Regions from separate parts of the Homo sapiens genome. Here regions 2, 3 and 4 are each linked to region 1. The links are contacts of gene promoters, found by promoter capture Hi-C in human tissues and cell types (Jung and others, 2019). All regions are on one chromosome and are shown on one strand. The core of a region is centred on a gene start or on the middle of the fragment in contact, and the rest is flanking DNA. Distances in the headings are between cores, read along the strand shown. Region 1 holds the start of IGFBP2 (insulin like growth factor binding protein 2). Region 2 has its middle 59 kb from the start of DIRC3-AS1. Region 3 overlaps DIRC3 (disrupted in renal carcinoma 3). Region 4 overlaps DIRC3 (disrupted in renal carcinoma 3).

What was found. Contacts are between HindIII fragments. The study calls those that stand out against the background at their distance.
Region 2: a contact is called between a fragment that was not itself captured here and the fragment with the promoter of IGFBP2 in region 1, in 2 of the 25 tissues and cell types used here (hippocampus and neural progenitor cells).
Region 3: a fragment that was not itself captured here is called in contact with the fragment with the promoter of IGFBP2 in region 1 in 2 of the 25 tissues and cell types used here (adrenal gland and aorta).
Region 4: a fragment that was not itself captured here is called in contact with the fragment with the promoter of IGFBP2 in region 1 in 3 of the 25 tissues and cell types used here (adrenal gland, heart right ventricle and mesenchymal stem cells).

What each region holds. Positions count from the first base shown.
Region 1 is chr2:216,631,833-216,634,669 of GRCh38, reverse strand. IGFBP2 (insulin like growth factor binding protein 2) reads right to left here and starts at 1,250. Exons shown (of 4, transcript NM_000597.3): 1 at 705-1,250. The coding sequence starts at 1,146. The HindIII fragment of the contact is 9,313 bases long and covers 1-2,837 here.
Region 2 is chr2:217,221,953-217,224,652 of GRCh38, reverse strand. No RefSeq gene overlaps it. Among named protein-coding and RNA genes, the nearest start is that of DIRC3-AS1, 59 kb to the left of the region's middle. RefSeq lists an enhancer at 91-1,290. The HindIII fragment of the contact is 4,414 bases long and covers 1-2,700 here.
Region 3 is chr2:217,359,871-217,362,706 of GRCh38, reverse strand. The region is part of intron 8 of DIRC3 (disrupted in renal carcinoma 3); the gene reads left to right. Among named protein-coding and RNA genes, the nearest start is that of DIRC3-AS1, 79 kb to the right of the region's middle. The HindIII fragment of the contact is 5,085 bases long and covers 1-2,836 here.
Region 4 is chr2:217,554,586-217,557,285 of GRCh38, reverse strand. The region is part of intron 2 of DIRC3 (disrupted in renal carcinoma 3); the gene reads left to right. Among named protein-coding and RNA genes, the nearest start is that of DIRC3, 230 kb to the left of the region's middle. RefSeq lists an enhancer at 1,613-2,213. The HindIII fragment of the contact is 3,683 bases long and covers 1-2,700 here.

The sequences.
Region 1 (2,837 bases), core at 1-2,500:
CGGCGATCGGGCTTAAGTTACATTGATTCAGCTGCTAGGAGACCCCTCGCCTACCAAATGCCTCCCTTTTATTTTTCCATTCAACGTGGTAGCAAGAGCCCTGCTCGTTCCCTATGGAGAAATAGTAGTGGTGGTTTTCATTTTTCTCCTAAGCGACTCATCCTACAAAGTACCAAGTCCTTTCTTTCCAACTCACAACCCCAGTAGAAGGAAGGGCCCCTTGGGACGCCGGTGCCTCCTCCTAGCTCCCTCTCCTCTTCCAAGGTTCCTGGTGTCACTGGCACCCCGCAGCCTCCGCCTCCCAGCAGCGATCCCACCAGGACCCTTGGGTCCTCAAGCAGTGCCCCAAATAAGATTCGAGTTCCTACTCCCATGGATCTGACCACCGGCCCCCTTCTCAGCAAATCCCTCCTCCAGAATAGAAGTCTGGGTCCGTTCCACGCGGGTAAAACTATGGCAGCAGGGATGCCTTTCCTCTCCCCATTCATCCCCACCAAATGAGTCGCCAGGGCTCTTCCACTTGCTCTAACTCCAGTTCCCCTCCCCGGGCCTGACTTCCGCGTCCCGCTAGCAACAGTCCCCCTTGATTTGGTCCAAGGTCTCGGCTCTGCCGCCCCTAAAACCGTCCGTAAGGTCCAGCCGCCCGTCGGGCTTCTCCGCTGCCCTCCAAGTTTCTCCCAACTACTTGTTCCAGACCGCGTTACCTGCAACCTGCTCCGGGCTGGCGCCATACTCGGCGTCCCGGCGCTTCTCACAAGTGCCCTCGCCCATGACCAGCGCCTGCAGGGGCAGCTCGGAGCCCGGGTGGGGATAGCAGCGCAGCCCCTGGCCGCAGCGCGGGGTGTAGACGCCGCACGCCTCGCCCTCCAGCCGGGCGCACACCGAGCAGCAGCCGCAGCCCGGCTCCCGGACGAGCTCCGCGCATGGCATGCGGGCGCCTCCGGCCACTGCGGCCACCGCGGCGGGCGGCGCAACCGGCGGGGGCCCGCAGGCGGCCAGGCGCTCGGGTGTGCAGGGCGGGCAGCGGAACAGCACCTCCGCGCGCGCCCCGCCGCCGCCGCCACTCGCGCCCAGTAGCAGCAGCAGCAGCGGCAGCAGCGGCGGCGGCGGCAGCGGCAGCGCGGGGCAGCCCACTCTCGGCAGCATGCTGGCGGTCGGCAGCGCGGCGCGGCGGGCGAGCGAGCGAGCGGGCGGGCGGGCAGGTGGCACGGCCCTGCGAGCGCGGGAGCCGCCTCCTCCGCTTCTTCCTCCTCCCTCGCCGCCGCAGCCGGGTCCTAAAGGGCCGGCTTCTCCCCGCCCCCTGCCTTCTCCCCTCCCCCTTTTGGAGACCACTCCCTTCCCCCCCGACACTCCCTCGCGCCGGCAAGTGAGTGCGCGCACGCCCGCTCGCCCACCTCCGCGTTGGCTGCGGGCTCTGGGGGTTCCCTGCTCTTCCCGGGCCCCGTCCCTCCGCACTCTTCTGGCCTGACTATGACTCCTGAAGGAGAATACGGATAACTCGCGGGTTTGGGTAGGACCGGCGTGGCGGTGGAGAAGAGCGCGTGCTTTTGTCTGCTCTCAGTTCAGTTCGCGAGGACTTCGTTTGCGCGCTTCCCCTGTGGCCGGCACTGGGCTAACCGCTGGGGAACACAAAAGACATAAGGCTCCGTTTTGACCTTCAAGTAGATTTCAGTCGGCTCATACCAACTCCTTCCATCCTGGGGTATCACCCACCACTGACACGTGGCTTGGAACAATGACTTCTTGTTGGGTGGGTCCTGCGGAGTTTCAGACCCGTCTAGACCAAGCTAGACCCAAACAGCCCCGAATGGTCTTAGTGACTATTGCAGTTTTCCAAACCTGGGAGCTCGTGACTACAACCTATGAGAACCCTAAGTGCCCCGCAAAACCTGCCCCCTTCGTCTGCAGACCCCCTCCCTTCTCCGCCCGCTAAAATAATCCCTTAGCACCCTGGGCCCCCACCTACAAATCTCGAGGCACTTGTTGCAGGACAGATCCCAGAACACTCAGTTGCAGGGGTCTTGGAGAGGTCAGATCAGCTCTCCAGGTGTGACAGACCCGCTCTGGGGTAAGGCCATTTATGGCTGTCTTCAATAATGCAGATGGACAAGCATGACCTCCTTTCATTGTTCTGTTTGATTTACTGAGTCATCTACCCAAGCTGCCCCCAACCCCCATCATTCCAGGCTGGACTCAGCCATAATCAACCATCTCCTGGGGTGTGACCCTAACAAAGACCCCTGTCAGAGAGATTCCTTGGGTGACAGGTGGACCATTAAGCTGCCTCCACCGCAGGTTTCATCTCCCTATACCTCAGCGCCCCTCTTCCCCCCAGACCCCTCCACTCTGGCTCTTTCTGACTTCAAGGCTCAGAGCCTGTTTGATTCAGTTCAACAGCTAGTTAACCCAATGGCCACCTGGCTCTGAAGGTGACCTAGATGCCTCCAGGAAGGCAAGTACCTGGTCTTAAGACGCCAAGCTGGGAAGAGTTATCGGGAAAGACTTTGGTAAGATAAAAAATAAATAAATAAATGTTTATCAGAGGCTTTGAAGAAAAGAAATATTTTGGTAGAGAGGTGATGTGGTGGTTGAGGAAAGGGGAGTTTCTTGGGTGAGTCGGAGCTGAAATTGAAGCTTGTAATTCTACCAGAGGAAATGGGCGGTTAGCAAGGGCACAGGCAGAGGGACCACCTGAAGCAAAAACACAGAAATGGGGCCGGGCGCGGTGGCTCACACCTGTAATTCCAGCACTTTGGGAGGCCGAGGCAGGTGGATCACCTGAGATCAGGAGTTCAAGACCAGCCTGGCCAACCGTGGCCAACATGGTGAAATCCCAT
Region 2 (2,700 bases), core at 159-2,658, 590 kb before region 1:
AGCTTAGCTGGTGGCTATGGCCTAGGGTCTCTCATGAGGTTGCAGTTAAGACTTGACAACGTTGCAGTTTGCCTGAAGGGCTTAACTGGGGTTAGGGGATCTGTTTGCAAGATGGCTCACTCACATGGCCATTGGCAAGAAGCCTCGGTTCCTCACTGACAACTAGCAGGAGGCCTCAGCTGCTCTGCATGTAGCACCCTCCATGGGATGGTTTTGCGTCCTCATGATACAGCAGATGTCCTCCCTCAGAGCAAGTGATCTAGGAGAGACAGCAAGATGGAAGATGCAGTATCTTCCAGGATCAATTGTTGTAAATCATACTTCATCACTTTTGCCATATAATATTTTTTAGAGGTAAGTCACTAAAAATAGTCCACACTTGAAAGGAATTAAGCTCCATTTTTTAAAGGAAAGTATATTAAATAATTTGTGAGCATATTTTATTTAAAGCTACTCACCACAAGTGGGATGGCCACTGGAGTCTGGAGAGTTTCAAACTGTAACTCCTTGAATTCAGCTGGAGTCAGTATAGCATAGCAGAGCAGGGTGAGATTCAGGTTCCAATGGACTCAAGGGTGCGACCTGGCCAAGACGAGCTCCTGGGAGTGCCACCTGTGCCATCTCGCAAACCCCACACTCAGAACGACTTCATCTTTGGTTTAATACTCTGTTGCCATCTTGAAATTAAAATTCTTGGTAATTCTTAGTAATTTTGTCTTTGTATCTGTGTTTTGTAAGTGAAGTCCAACGATACCATGGAGCATGTGCAGGAGCAGAGGAGATAGCAACAATAAAAGCGTTTACTGCCATTTCTTGCTGTCCTATTTGCATATAGTGTTCATAAAATCCCATGAGCACGGGATTCCGATGAGTCTACATTGCATGGGAGCTCAGAAGGGACTCAAAGCAAGCACACGGTAAGCATGTTATGTGTACAACTAAGGATGTGGGGACCACACCACTGACAGTCCCAGGAGGCCACATTTTCCATTCAAGCCAGAAAGAGGGCAAGGACATTCTAAGAAACAAGAATTAGCAAGGGACTCTGTCATATCCTTTATTACTCATGTTACTTCCTCTATTAGTCAACCACTTGCACTGAAAATGATACCATAGAAGGAAAGAGAAAGATAGGGCAAACCATAGTGCCTTTTCTTTTCAGTCCTCTTACTCATCAGTAAGTCAAAGGTAGAGAGTGTTGATAGAATGTGCATATTATTAAGAAGAAAAGTACAAATACTTGAACTGGTTTCGTGCAGTGTTTACAGTGTTCTGATAAGAGCAAAATATATATGCGTGTACAAGCTATGAAGTATAAATTGTGTGATTTCGGTAATCTCATAGGAATGAAATACTCTTAGTTTGCATTTAAAAGTGTCATTGCACAATATCAAGATGAATGGTAAATCTATGCTAGTAATTTATCATTTCAATTTTTCTTTATTTAGAACATGAAATAGCAAATTGAAAAACAACACGACCATGACAAGTCAAGGGAGACTGTGAAAGAAATAAAAAAGCTTTATATTTTACTACCTCTAATGACAGTTTTCCCCTGCCTTTTATTTCAAAAACACATTCAGTCTGTAGCATAGAATGAGGTTATGTAACCTTGAACAGTAATAGAAATGATCAAAATACAAAGGCATGGTAATTTATAGGGAGCTGAGTGTAAAACATAAAAAACAGCATTCTCAAGTCGTTTTTTCAGAAGTCCATAGGTGTTGCTTATAAAATAGAGACTACAAAGCCTTGAAGAAAACAGGTTCACAGGAGCAAGATATGGTTCAAGCTGAGAGTCCTCTGCCAAATCAGGGGGGTTGGTAAAATCTAGGGAGAGAACGATTCTAATTTCAAGAAGAAAAGCACTAGACAGAAAAAAGGAACTGAGAAACTGAGAAGCAGAAGTATTACGTTGATGCAAAAGTAACTGCGGTTTTTGCGGTTACTTTTAGTGACAAAAATCGCAATTACTTTTGCACCAACCTAATACATATAGTAGGCCCAAGGCAGTGGATCTGGTGTACAGATATTAGAGATGGATTGAAGGGAGAAAGGGGCAGAAAAAGAGACAACCAAATAGCTTAGACACATACTCCTAAGGCCAGAGCCTGGGCACCAGTAGCAGGGCTGAGTGATGTGGCCATGATCTTCAACTCAAAGAATGTTCAAAGTAGGAGGGACCCCAGAACTCATCTAATTCAAACCACTTATTATCAGTGGGATAAAATGAGGCACAAAAAGGGACATGACTTATCCAAAACTATGGAATTTGTAACAGAAGATAATATTTTAATTTATGCCTTTTCTGCTGTATCACAAAGTCAATTTATAGGTCAGATGGGAATACCTAGGATCTATACTAGAATATGTCTTTCTCCCCTAGAAAGAGAAAGTAGAAAGACGATCAGCTCCACTTGGAAATAGCAATTATGGTAAAAGAACTAGCTCAAAATCCCACACCCAAATTAACATCTGGTTCTCCAGCACTCACGAAGTTTAAGGCATGTGCTGGGTACAAGGAAAAAGCTCTAGGCTCCAAGATTGTTTTCCTGCTAGACTGGCCCCTAAGGGTCAGGGACCAAATCTGATTTACCTTTCCATCTCTAACACCTGGATAATAGTCGTCTTTGACTATTTATTTTCAATAAGTAATTATTTTATTCCTAGGGTCCCTTGCATTTCTATTCTCCTAATATT
Region 3 (2,836 bases), core at 247-2,746, 730 kb before region 1:
ATGAAGGTATCAAATACTAGGACAGACAGGATTATGATAATATTCCTTGGCTACTTGTTTGAGAATAAGTATCTTATCTGTAACTTAAGGATGTAGCCAGATACTCCCCTCAAAGAAATTTCCCATGTAGGCAATGAATTCAAATTGCCATCAATCCATTTGTGGTGACTTGTCTGTGTAGAGCTGGGGTGGAGTGAATACAGATGAGTTACTGTTGGGGTGATGAGTTACTGCAGGGTTATCTGCCAACCACTTGTATTTGGCAAGAGCAGATATGGAAGCCTCTGGACTTGGAGCACTGGAACCCAGAGAAAATTTCAGTTAAGCTGTTCGGTGGGCTCAAGTTGGAATTGAGAGATGCATGTTCAAGGTTCATCCAGCCCAAGATGTAGATGTAGAACAGGAATGGTTTCAAATGGTCTTTTCAGAAAAAGGAAATGTCAAGACAGCCCCCCAGGAATATACAGACTCCAGGCTGATGGGACAGTAAGAGGAGTATCTGAGCTAGATGCTAAGGCTGGTTTCCTCTGTTGAACTAGATAATCTCTGAGGTCCAGAAAATAGAAGTAGTTTATCTAAGGGCACACGACTGGTTAGTTGATGGGCTGGGATTCATACCTAAGTTCACTCATTCATCCATTCATTCATTAGCCAATGGCTACCAAATGTGGCCTGTTCTGGGCTGGATGTTGTGTGCTTCAGTCTACTGACACCCTGCCCAATTCTCTTCCTCACAAGTCATGACAATTTGATTTCTATTGAATGCACAGAATCAGCAAAGCCATACACTTCTTTCCTTGCCAAACCTTTCTTCTTTTTGTTAAGGTAATAAGGTGGGGAAAAAAAGCATAGAGGATAGACGTTTTTAATTTGAAATGAGAGTAGTGGTCATGAGTTTTTGAATAAGGCCTCTATAAGTATTCTATAACTATCCCCAAAATAGCCAGAGTTGCTTCAGCCAGGCCCACTCCATCAACAAAGGAGTCTGAGGTGCTTGCCAGGGAGTGGGAGCCTCTCAGAGCTGGAGGGATAGACTCAGAGAGGATGTGCAAATCTGAGTTCTGGAGAAGTATCTCAGAAAGAATCAACTTTTGCACTAATGCCTGGCAAGTGAAAGCTGTTCTATAAATAATATCTCTTTCCTCTTTGGTACAGCTTTTAGTTTAGTCGTTATATATTTTCTTTTTCTTACTCAGTTGCTCCCTTGGTTGTATATGATTTCTGCACCCAAAATGAACTTTTGAGGTTTTAATATATACATAGGGGTGTATCTGTGTCAGTGAGGGGAGATGTTGTAGCCTTGTTTTTAGAGTAGCTGGGGCTGGACGAGGTCAGCTGAATTTTTGAGAGTTCAGGTCAAGGCCCTCCAACTGGCAGGGAGCAGTCACACCCTCCAGGCTCCCCAGCCAAGTGCATGCTCCTCTGAAAGTCACTGAGCTGAAGATAAACATGGAGCCCATAATAGCTTTTTCACTTGATCTCCTTTATTACATGTTCCACACTTTAAATTCCTTTGCTACACTCCTGTATTCTTTTGGATCTTTCAGAACAAACATTGAAGTAGGCAAAAAAAAAAAAAAAAAGAAGCAAACTGCCCTCTTCCCTCCACCCTTCCCATCCTTTCTAAGTGAGTCACTTCGACTGGGACAATTAATCTTAATCAGGACGGTATGACAGCAGAAAAAAAGACATCCGCAGTGAAGCACTTTGGTGCCAAAGATTGGTGAGGCAACCAGTTCCTTCCTCTAGGCTGTGAAGGGGGCAATGTAGAAATGATTTGGTTGTTTTAAAAATAGCATGTCACAAAATCAGAGCTGCCTGTATCTTCAGGGTGGGCAGCAGGGATGGGGTGGTGTAATGCCTGTGCTAACCACTGAGTGTAAGCAGGCACTTTAAATATTGTTGGCTGGAAGGTCATACAGGCCACCAAGGCCCCAATGATCAACTCCACCTTCTCCAGGGGACATTGAGGACAAATAATTCCTCGTATTTGCCCTGGTGTTTTTCTCCATAAAACTCAGAGCTTCCATGCTAGTATCCTTAACCATTATCCTCATTTTCTGACAGGTGCAATTACTCATCTCCTGTCCTCTGCCCATCTCCTGTTTTGTTTTTCTCTGCATGGGTCATACTTTCCAATAAGCCATGGCTACACCTGGTACCCTAGAAAGGTTTTAGTCAACGAAGTGTACCTATTGCAGACAGACTCAGCAAGTCCTGGAATGACCAGGAGGAACCACTTCATCCCCTTATGAATGCAGTCTCATCTTTTCATTTGCAATTAGCTGATCGAGTCCTCATTAGCAGGAGGACTAGTGTTACTCTTTTGAGGTCCAAGAACTGCCGGGACACAGTCCAAAGTGCACAGTCCTGCTTCCAAATACAGGGCTGAGAGGGAACAAGAGCTTCTGAGCTGCCCAATTATGGGTGAGTATTGTTTCAGTTCCTTCTGCAGGTGCCTTTGTTAAAAACTGCCCTAAAGCAGACTGATGGATGCCTCTCCACTGCCATGGTCATGTCCTTGTTGGCCTGGATACAGGCATAGACCACAGTGGTTTCAAGGCTGCACATAGGTATCAAGGTTCCAACCCTAATGAAACAAGATGCAAAAAAGACTGAATCAGAGTTGGTGGGGTAGTGATAAAAGGAACTCGCAGTCATTCGGGGTGAGTTCTGCCCGCCCCTGGGAGAATGGTCTCCTTTCCTTCCAGCAGACTTCGGTTGGGACCATCCCAGTCCTCCTACAGTTCTAATAAGGTCTCTCTTGAGACGGTTCTTTAGCCCCATTGTGAATTTGCCTTTCTCCTTTGCAAATATTGTGAAAAGTAACAGGCCA
Region 4 (2,700 bases), core at 156-2,655, 920 kb before region 1:
CCATATGCAATATGGGGGTGAGTCAAGTAGGTTGTATCTAGCTGTCCTATGGGGCAGTGGTCACCAGGAGGCAGTCGTATAAGGCAGATATCTGGTTCGATTACACTGAAGAATGAACTGAGAGGAGGCGGAGAAGTAGAAACCGAGTCAAGGGTGACAAAGCCCTGTTGCTGGTATGAGAAAGTCAAACCTATATTCAAAATGTATGCCAAGGCAACATAAAATGGTAAGAATTAACTACGGTCCGTATCTGCAACTGGTCTACACAGGACGTATAAAAGCCCAGCCTTATCAAATTCTAAACAACTCAGAAGGACCATCTCGCTTGTAGAGCTCCCTACAGGGTGGGTTGAGGTCTTTGCTGCAGCTGCATTGTGGTTCAGCTTCTCCCTCTGTTCAGTGTTGCTTCTTTTCCTCTCCTGTAGGTGTTGAGGTTGGGAGTGTTCCTGTCAATTCACATGTTCAACTCTGAGTCTGCTTCCCCGGAAAACTGATGTATGGCATGTAGTAACGCACTATTATTATTGACATGTAGATTTTGAGCAACTACCCTATGCCCCCTTGCACTTCAGCTACAGATGTGTAGTTCGTGCAGGTTGTATGGGAGCATCTAGCTAAATAAATCAAATGAGGGCTGAAATCCGTTCTGCACAACACTGCCGAAGCTGTTTGCCCTGGCATGGGGTTACCTTTTTTCTAATTTACGCAAAGTCTCTGCATGAGCTCATCAGCCCTGCTGTGGGCACTTTATTTTCAGTGAAGTGTCCCCAAGGAAGAAGCAGAAAGAAAAACCAAAATGCCTGGGATGAAGTTGCAGCATCTTCAGGAAAGTTAAGATTAGGTTGCAGCTTCTCAGAGACTCCAAGAAGATGACATTGAAGTTCACGTGAAACAAACCTCCTCTATCAGCCCCAAAGTGTTTTGCTTATGTTTCTTATTTCATCTTGGCTGGTCTTATTCACTGGAGTGTAGGCAGTTAGGGGTAACTTAGTAGGGATGGGACTTGCATCTAATTCTAAATATTATCCTCCTGCTCAAGAGATTACTTTTTCTTCCCTTGAAATTCAAAAGCCAGTTCTGCCTTTTCATGGTTCCTGGAGAAGACTGTTAGAATACCATTCATTCATCTTTAATTGTCTCATTTTCTAAGAAAATGAACTTGGGGAGGAAAGTGACATTCTCCAAGCCCTGTGGCTATCTAGTTACAGACTCTAGGTCAATTGCCTGACTTCTTGTTTAGAGCTCCTACTACAAAGCTCTATCAGGCTTCAGCCCCACTGAAGCACTCTGGATGGTGAAGAAGTTTCCAGGGAGCTGGAAGGGGCAACAGCAGTTTCCCCAGCAGACCCTGCTCCTCTTCCTCTTGACAATCCTAGAAGAGCACTGGCAGTGGGTGTGCTCCCTTCTCTGCTTGGCTCTCAGTAAACTTCTGAGCTCCCAGAGAAGGCTCTGCAGAGGCCACAGGGTGCAGACAGAGCTGTGCCTTTGATGTGGCTCCAGAGAGAGGCCACTCTCCTTGACCAGTGGCTGGAGCTCTATTTTATGTAGACATTTCCCATCTTTCCTTTTCATAAAACATTCCTGCAGGAGATAAAGTATTGTACATTTATAGTTTCGGCTTGCCAAGAACATCTCACTAGCTCATCTCATAAATCCTACCAAGCTTCCCTCCAGCAGCAAGTCATAGCCAGTCCTGCCAGGCCTGGGGCAGGCAGGATCACTGACGGTCCAGCCCACGGACATCAGGAGGCCACTCTGCACCCTTGGGAGTTTCTGTCTCCTCGTCCTTCCTGCCCTCTGAACTTAGAGTCTCAGCTTTCCCACAATCAACTCCTACCTCCAGAGATAATTTATATTCATTCTCTCTCTGCCTGTCCCCACCCCACCCAGCATTCCACCCTGCTTTGTTATTCTAAATTTACATTAAATGCAAGCTCTTTCTAGTCACTGATTCAGAAGGCTTGGCGCATGCTCATTCAAATCATAGTACTTAACTTTTTATAGATCAAAGCTTGTCTTCTTAGAAAGCCACGAGACTTGGGTAGATCCTTCCTCCACAACTAGCCGGAGTCTCAGCCTGCCTGCCTGCCTGCCTTGCAGAGAGATGGGAGGAGTTCTGGGGCCCAGAGCAGGTGGGAGGACAGACAAGCAGCCCTGTCTTCTCTTTCTACTCTCTCTTCTTCTGCCAGCACTGGGCTCTCTTTGAGGTTGGCTCTGGTCTTATCTAGATGCAAGTTCAACTAACACAAACTATTTCTCTGATTCTGAACTATTTTATCCTTTGGATGCTCTTTTGGTCTCTCTTTTTCAAGTGTTCTTTGTGCTGTCTGTCAATTACTCTATTTATTCTGAAGCCCCACCTCTGTCCCTATGTTCTTCCTGCCCATCTCTTCCCTTCCTTACAATCTCTCCATCTCACAAGACTACAGGAATAGTAGAATGTTATTGGAGGTTGGGCATTCCCAATCTGAAAATCTAAAATCCAAAATGCTCCAAAATTCAAAATTTTTGAGTGCCAGTACGGTACCATAAGTAGAAAATTCCACACATAAGGGCTTTAACACAAACTTTTTTTCATGCACAAAATTATTAAAAACATTGTTTGACATTGCCTTCATGCTATGTGTATAGGGTGTATATAAAACCTAAGTAAATTTTGTATTTATACTTGGGTCCTATCTTTGCATATTATGTATATGC